3 separate regions of the Homo sapiens genome follow, and all the other regions are linked to region 3. The links are contacts of gene promoters, found by promoter capture Hi-C in human tissues and cell types (Jung and others, 2019). All regions are on one chromosome and are shown on one strand. The core of a region is centred on a gene start or on the middle of the fragment in contact, and the rest is flanking DNA. Distances in the headings are between cores, read along the strand shown.

What was found. The method cuts DNA at HindIII sites, captures the fragments that hold promoters and counts their contacts. A contact is called where the count stands out against the background at its distance.
Region 1: a contact is called between a fragment that was not itself captured here and the fragment with the promoter of TMA16 in region 3, in 1 of the 25 tissues and cell types used here (lymphoblastoid cells).
Region 2: a fragment that was not itself captured here is called in contact with the fragment with the promoter of TMA16 in region 3 in 1 of the 25 tissues and cell types used here (dorsolateral prefrontal cortex).

What each region holds. Positions count from the first base shown.
Region 1 is chr4:162,702,677-162,705,545 of GRCh38, forward strand. No RefSeq gene overlaps it. Among named protein-coding and RNA genes, the nearest start is that of MIR4454, 390 kb to the right of the region's middle. The HindIII fragment of the contact is 6,712 bases long and covers 1-2,869 here.
Region 2 is chr4:162,854,732-162,857,570 of GRCh38, forward strand. No RefSeq gene overlaps it. Among named protein-coding and RNA genes, the nearest start is that of MIR4454, 240 kb to the right of the region's middle. The HindIII fragment of the contact is 4,061 bases long and covers 1-2,839 here.
Region 3 is chr4:163,493,245-163,496,130 of GRCh38, forward strand. It overlaps TMA16 (translation machinery associated 16 homolog), which reads left to right and starts at 1,446. Exons shown (of 7, transcript NM_018352.3): 1 at 1,446-1,560. The coding sequence starts at 1,558. LOC124900805 (a long non-coding RNA gene) reads right to left here and starts at 1,980. Exons shown (of 2, transcript XR_007058354.1): 1 at 1,918-1,980; 2 at 1-1,652. RefSeq lists a cis regulatory region at 1-55 and enhancers at 1,337-2,239, 1,703-1,842, 1,873-2,022. The HindIII fragment of the contact is 18,907 bases long and covers 1-2,886 here.

The DNA.
Region 1 (2,869 bases), core at 265-2,764, 790 kb before region 3:
AATAGCTTTAAGTCAAAAGGGCCAAAAACATGTTTTAAACTAAAATAAATAATGAAATTCAAGAAGTCTCTTTTAAGAATCATTACTGAAGTTAAATTATATAATTAGTCTTTATTTCAAAAAGTTTAATTTTTGAAAATGTTCTAGGAACTAAGAAATGCTTGACATACATTTGATTATTCAGAATAAGACCACAATCATTTGCATTAGAGAGCCTTTACTAAAGACTATGATGCTTTTCTTAATTGAAGATCCTCAGCAGTTGAATGACTTTTTCAGGTATCTCTTGGTATACTAAAGAAGAGCTTTCCCTTTTCTAATTTTCAGAATTTCTCTAAAATGAATAAAGGAAAAGAAAAGACAAAACATAAGAAAGAAAGAAAAGAAAGAGTAGATATTAGAAACTTTCAAGATAAAAGCCAATATGAAACCACAAAAGACCTTGAATAACCAAAGAAATCTTGAACAAGACCAAAGCTGCAGGCACTGCACTACCTGATTTCAAGATAAACTCCAAAGCTATAGTAGTCAAAACAATATATTACAGGCATAAAAACATACATGTAGACCAATGAAACAAAATATTAAGCTGAGAAGCAAATCCACATATTTATGTTCAGTTGGTCTCAGGCAAAGATTCCAAGAACATATAGTGGGGAAAGGACAGTCTCTTCCACAAATGTTGATGGTAAAACTGGATATCCACACACAAAAGAAAGAGACTGAACCCTTATCTCACACAACAAAAATCAACTCAAGATAGATTAAAGACTTACATGTAAGAACTGAATTTATAAAACTACTAGAAGAAAACGTGGGAGAAAAGCTCTGTGACATTGTTCTGGGCAATGATTTTTTTGAATAAGACACTCAAAACATAGAAAACAGAAGCAAAAATAGACAAATAGGCTACATCTGAATTGCAAAGGAAAAAATGAGCAGAATGAAGAGACAACTTAAGTGATGGGAAAAAATATTTGTAAACCATATATCTAATAAGGGATTGGAATTCACAACAAATAAGGAACTCAAACAACTCAATTGCAACAAAATAAATAACTTGATTCCAAAGTGGGCAAAGGATATGAGTAGACATTTTTCAGAAAGACATACAAATGGCCAATAGGTATATTTTTTAAGAATTTCAACCTCATTAATCATTAGGAAAATGCAAATCAATACCACAATATTACCTCACACCTGTTAGAGTGGCTTTTATCAAAAAGATGAAAGATAAGTGTTGGCAAGAATGCGGAGAAAAGGGAATTCCTGTCTACTGTTACTGAAAATGTCAGTTGGTACAGCCATGATGGAAAATAGTATGAGGGTTTTCTGAAAAATTAAAAATAGAAAAGTAGAGCTATCTTATAATCCAGCAATCCCATTTTTGTATATATTCAAAGGAATTAAAATCAGTGTCTTGAAGAGATATCTGCACTCCCATGTTCATTGCAGCATTAATCAAAACAGATAAGTTATGAAACCAACCTAAGTGCTCACCAACAGATGAAAGAAAGGGAATTTTGGTGTGTGTGTACACACACACACAGACACAACGGAATATTATTCCATCTTAAGAAAGATGAAAATACTGTTATTTGAGACAACATGAATGAACTTGGAGGACATTATATTAAGTGAAATAAGCCAGGTACAGAAAGACAAATATTGCATTATCTTATTTATATGTGAAATCTAAAAGGGATGAGTTCATAGAAGCAGAGTAGAATTGTGGTTTCCAAGGGTTGGAGGGTTAGGAAAGTGTGAAAATTTTTGTCAAAGGGTACAAAATTTCAATTATATAGGATGAATGAGTTCTGGAGATCTAATGTATAGCATAGTGATTATAGTTAACATTACTGTAGTGTAGACTTGAAATTTGCCAAGGCAGTAAATCTTATGTGTTCTCACCACACACACATAACTGTGAGGTCATGGATATATTAATTAGCTTGATTGTGGTGATTATTTCACAATGTACATGTATATCAAAATATCACATCATGTGCATTAAATGTATATAAGTTTTGTTTGTCAATTATACTTCAATAAAACTGGGAAAAGAAACAGTCAGTAAGCCAGTATTTCATGAAGTCCCAATGGGTAACCATTATCCAAGGAAGCCACAAAGAGTTTAATGTGATGTAAAACACTAAAAAGTAAAACAAACAAACAAGCAAATAAACAGAATGATTAAGACTAAAGTTTACTACTGGTTTAGCATTACTCAGTAACTAATTAGAAATTTATCCTTCTTTGCATGTGGCTTGTTCAATGAATCATTTGAAACATTATAGTAGAGCTTTTAAAATGTGTAAGTTCACATAGAGGGACTAGTGAATGTATTATTATTTAAGAAAAAAAGATAAGAATAAAAGAAAAAGAATAAAAATAGGATAAAAGAAAGAGGGTTAAGAAGGAAGAAAGGCTGAAAGAAAAATATAAGACTTTCTCTTTTTTGCAATGGATAATTTGGACTCATTAAATATATTTTACTAATTCTTTATTCTCTCACTTTTCCATTTCTCTTTCCCCAAAACACAATATTCTTCTGGTCATTTGACCTCCCCTGGCATCCCCTGCCTCCACTGCTTGCACTATAGCTGTAGCTGTCAGTGGATGCAGTGTCCTTTATTGTACCATGACTTGACTGCCTTGGGATTTGGTGCAGATGTTAAAAATAGAGTCACAGAATGCTATTTCAACCCTGTACAGCAATCTTTAATACACGCTAAAGTCTGGAGGACAGATACTTCCTTTTCCAGATAAACTTACAGGTATGGTTTTACATGTTGACTTAGTTTTTTACTTAGCAGACATATCCACAGGAGACTTGGGAAGGCAAAATTAAACCCCCTGAATTAGAGAC
Region 2 (2,839 bases), core at 326-2,825, 640 kb before region 3:
ATACGTGTAGATTGTGTACTGCTTATCACAGTCAAATTAATTAACACATCCATCACCACCCATAGTTACCATTTGTGTATGTGTGGTAAAAACAAAAACCTACTCATCAAATTTTTAGTTCGCAATACAGTATTATTAACTATCATCACCATGCTGTACATTAGATCCCCAGAACTTATTCATCTTATAACAAAAAGTTTGTACTCTTTAACCAGCTTTAAAGAAACATAGCAAAACACTTCCAATAGATTATTTATTTATTTATTTATTTTTTGAGACAGAGTTTTGCTCTTGTCGCCTAGGCTGGAGTGCAATGGCGCAACCTCAGCTCATTGCAACCTCTGCCTCTTGGGTTCAAGCAATTCTCCTGCCTCAGCCTGCCAAGTAGCTGGGATTACAGGTGCCCACCACCATGCCCAGCTGATTTTTTGTATTTTTAGTAGAGATGGGGTTTCACCAGGTTGGCCAGGTTGGTGTTGAACTCCTGACCTCAAGTGATCCACCTACCTCGGCCTCCCAAAATGCTGGGATTACAGGCATGAGCTACCGTGCCCAGTCTTGTAATAGAGTTGAAAGTGTTTTTTCAAATAAGATTGTTCCTGAATGCTCAGGTGGGGAAAAAAAGAATCCTCCGTATCACATTGATTAAATATAGTTGTTGGTTGTTCTCAACTCAAAATCTATTTGTCTAGAATTTGGCACAACTTCACAAAGTTATTGAAGTATTTTACATAAGTTTTGACAAATATTTTACCAAACTCTTGTGCCAGTGTAACTTAATGTGCACGTAACTAAATTCTGCTCCTGTTTATCCTATTTAGGTTTATTTTCAGAATTCCCTTAGTAATACCAAAATCTTCACTTATTTATCATATTATTCTTATGAGTTTTATCTTTAACAAATTGTTTTATGAAGCTCCTAAAATTAAATATCATAGACTATTGGTCTTCATAGATTTAAGATCTGTTATTTTGACACGTAGTACTGTGAAATTTAGCTAAGCCTCAAATGTAACATGAGAGTTACTCTTAAAAATGGTTTAGCATCAGCCAGACAGAAAAAATGGGAAAATTATATATAAATCTATGGCGATGCTATAGACTGTGGTGTGCTTGGACTCTTGGAAGCTCATTATGCGTGACTATATGCTACCTGCTAGAACGTGGCAGATCACATTAGAAAGGCAAACAAAGGACAAATCTCGAAAGTCTAGAATTGTCCTGCTTAGCACTTTGAACATTATCCTGAAAACAATGGGAAATATTGAAAACTGTTGGAAAGAGAAGTAACATGATCATCAGAGATAAACTAACTAGTTTTGTTCTTTTTAAATTTCAATGTTTTGGCAGTAATCATGTGATTTCAGAAGTGTCATAGGCAAAACAAGAATACCAGTTATTCAAGTGCATTGAAAGTGGTAAAGACTAAATCTAGGACCATGATATGAAGATTTCATTAAAAATTCAGTAGATATGTAGAAAATAAAAGTGACCAAAGTTATAAATAATTTTGAATTAGTGTAAGTTTACAATGTGTCTCGAGTTTATAATTTGATTGAATAGAAGGTTGGCTAATAATTTTGAGGTATCAGATGTAGTAGTCAGATCATTTTTCTAACAGATTAGTCTCTCTCTCTCTGTTTCTCTCCTCTCTGTCTCTTAAAAAATTCCTTGCTACTAATAATTACTGAACTTTTAAAAAGTGGCAGAGAGTGACGAGACTACAGTAATTGTTCTCTGTATAAGTCAGGCATCAGCTGGGCTCACACTGCCTAAAAAAAAACTAGGCAAATTTGATTAGAACCCATATTCCATACTCTACATAAAGTTTATTTTCATAGTCTATATTCTTATGATTTCTGAGAGTTCTGATATTCCCATGGTCATCTTTTGTTCAAGCTTATTGCCTTTGCTGAATTACTTTTTTCCTCTATATATCATGCTTCTAACATCAAATGTATATCAACTCTATTCTGGGGAGAAAAAATACATATATAGTATGTATATGTGTATAGATATACATATATAGTATGTATATGTGTATAGATATACATACATATATACACATATACCCACAAATACTTTTTTTCACTCAAAGGAACTATACGTATAGAGACCATTACTAAATTTTAGTGCTCATACTTGATTTGTATCACAAAAATGTCAACAATTCAATATTTAACATCTAATGTCTTTAAGGTCTTTCAGCTGCTCAGTCATGTTGTTCATTTACTTATTCTCTTTTCTTTTCTTCTACTTTTGGTCTTTCTCTTTAAGGAATAGAAACCCTCGAATTGATCCTGTTTTCTTATGGTAAGTCAGTTCTCTGTAGTCTATACTTTAAAACCCATTGCCTAATCTCCTTTGGCACATCCAAAAACAGAAAAGCTTAGAAATGACAGTCTTCTGGATGTTGATTTTTCATCCAAGGGCCAAATTTCTTTCTGCTTTTTTTCTATGATTAGAAATGCATTTGTGTTCAGAGGGGAATCCCTGCTTCACCTTTTGGTTATTTTCCACGAAACAAAATACACGTGGAAATTTGAGTGTATGCTACTAGTCAAGTGCTTTTTTTAAAACTTAGCTTTATAATGAGCTTAAGAGCAAAGAAGATAAAGAAATTACTCTTTTTCCAAAAATAGAGATGGGGTCTTGCTCTGTAACCCAAGCTGAAGTGTAATGACGTGTCTATAGCTCATTGCAGTCTCCATGGGGGCTTAAGGAATCCACCCTACCTCAGCCTTCAGAGTAGCTGGGATTACAGGTCTGTACTAGCACACCTGGCTTAGAGATGACTCTTTAAATTTAAACAGTTTTAAACTAAGATGGAAATGCCATA
Region 3 (2,886 bases), core at 196-2,695:
GAAAATTCTGCAACCTGTGCTTTTGAGCAGCTTGCCACAGCCTGCTTCCACGCAGTGGAGTAGTGTACTTTCATTTAAAATAAATCTCTGCTTTCGCTGCCTTGCTTTATTTGTGTGTTTTGTCCAATTATTTGTTCAAAACGCCAAGGACCTAGCCAACTACCCTCAACTGTTAACAGCTGCACACACATATCAAGGCACACCAGCTTCACCCTGCCTGGAGCTTCTTCCCATGCCTAGTTTTCTCTTACAATTCCGGTCTCTGCTCAATTATCACTTCTAAAAGAGGACTTTATAGAGACCACCATGTGTAAAACAGCTTTTCTACATGCCCCCGCCAGCTAATTTTTATTAGAGTACTTATATTATTTGAAATAATATTTTTACATGCCTCCATCCCCTGGAAAATGAGCTGAGTGAGGGATATTGTTGGAGTATCCCCAGTACCAGGCACACAGTAGGCATTCAATAAATAGTTTTTGAATGATTACATTGTCTACGGAATTCTAACATGTATGGGTGAAACAAAGACTCTCACATGCTGTGAGAAGAAAACAAAAACTGGGTTGGCAGAGGCCTTGAATATGAGGAAGTGGCCTTTCCGGATAAAGAAACTAAGACTCGGCCGGGCGTGGTGGCTCAGGCCTGTAATCTCAGCACTTTGGGAGGCCGAGGCGGACGGATCACCTGAGATCAGGAGTTCGAGACCAGCCTGGCCAACACGGCGAAACCCCGTCTCTACTAAAAATACAAAAAAAAAAAAAAAAAAAAAAAATTAGCCGGGCGTGGTGGCGGAGGCCTGTAATTCCAGCTGTTCGGGAGGCTGAGGCAGGAGAATCGCTTGAACCCGGGAGGAAGAAAGAAAGAGGGAATGAGGGAAGGCGGGAAAGAGGGAAAGAAGAAAAGAAAAGAAAGGAAAGAGAAGAGGGGCGGGGCGGGGCAGGGCAGGGCAGGGCAGGGCAGGGCAAAAAAAGACTCAGTGCAGGAAAGGACTTGCCCAAGGTAATCTAGTACGTGGAAAAGCGGAGGGCAGGAGCCTGTGCCGTGCAAGAGCTCCGGGGAGCCAACACCGAGCGGCCCTTTTGAGAGGGTCCCAGCCCCTGAGATGCGGGAGCCCGCAAGAGGGAACCTCTTGTCTGAAGAGGTTGCTGCGCTCTGGAGTCGTGCTCTGGGACAGATGGGCAAGCTCCGCTCTTGGGGCCGGAAGCGTGTAGCGTCTCCACCCGGGCTCCAATCCCCAGCCTCGCACTCAGCACCAGGCAGAGTTCAGCCTCCCGCCGCAAGCTCCCTTCCGCCGCTCCCGGCGAGCACGCAGGTCTGGCTGTCCGTTGGGCTAGAGCTTAAAAGCCCAACACGGGCGAAAAAGACGCGGTCTCAGTTAACGGGGACGCTTTAGAGAAACGCACTCGCCTCTCCTGTTCCGGTTGGGTCGGCGCGGGCTTCTCAGGCGCCACGTGGGATTCGGCCCGGGTGCTCTTGTGAGCTGCTGCTCCTGCGGTTGGTGAGATTACCTGGGTCTAGAGTGCGGAGCTGCTCCGTGGCCACGAGGACGTCACCATGGTGGGCCCCCTCCTGCTCCCCCGAACCGCTCGGTTGGTTCCCCGGAAGGCTCTTGTTGAGCAGGCAGAGAGGGAGGGTGCGGTTTCGGGAACCTAGGAGAGGGGAGGATGCAAAGTGTTTATTTTCAGGGAGTGTGCGGGGTGCGGGGCGAAGCCTCTGGGAGGCGAGTCCCAGGCCCAACGCCTGGACCTTAGAGTTCCGCGTCCGAGTGCTGAAGTGCTCACACGTCGCCTTGCTCCTCTTTGCCTTGTGCCTAACTTCTCGCTAGTCACTACTTCCTGGGGGAAACCCGGCACCTTTCCATTGTAACGCATCGAGGAGTTTGGCAAAACTTCTGAGATCGCTGGCCCTACACACCTCTGCCTCTCTGGCCTGGGTAGACTCAGTATGTGGGCTTAGTCGCCTCTTCCTCGGCGTCCGTTCACCTCTCGTTAGTGCCCTGAATCCTGCCGTTACGCCCCCATTCGCTCCAGGGCACTGAAGCAGTTTTGTTGTTTTTATTAAAAACTGAGTAGATACAAAAGAGTGTTACTAAAGCACATTTCAAGTGTAAAGATGAACAGTTTCAGGAATTCTCGTTTACCCATTTTGTAGTTTTAAGAAATAAAACATAGCCTTTGAAAGCCCTGTGTTACCTTCTTTGAACTTTCAGGAAACCTTAAGAAGCAAACATTATCTAAGTTTTGTATTTATAATTTCACTACTTTTCTTTATAGTTACTACATATATTTGTATTTTGAAACAGTATGTTGTTTCTTGCCTATTTTTTACGTAATCGTTGTGTTCTTGAGAGTAATTCTTGCATAGAAACATGCTTTATAAATTTTTTTCAATTAATTTTTAATAAAAGCAAAATTTTAAAAGTTTATAATCTGGTCAGAAGTTACGATATTGTGTCCACAATGTGGCCTCTTTGTTTCTTTTCATTTTTTTCTCTTTTCATTGTATGCCATTTTTGTCTTACAGTCTGGTTCTTTCGTTGTTTCGCGAGTTTTTTGTGCTTTATTTTGATCCACTGCTGACGCATATTTTGTACTTTAGATTGTACACATTTGTGTAAATTCAGTGTTTGCTTGTCACTTTGCTTGTGGGATTTCCAACTCTTTATAGTGTTAGTTTTTTTCCCCTTTTCAGAGTGGAATATGAAAGCAATTACATCTCATTGTGTTTGAGTGATTGGGGAGATAGATTGGTATTTGACTGTAGTTGTCCTTGACTATCAGAGCTTCACTTTTTATCAGGCTGTATAGTAGAAGTACGTTGCTTTGGCATAGAAGTCAAAAGAGTGGCATATGAACCTGTTTTCATTGGCTCATTTCTGGCTCT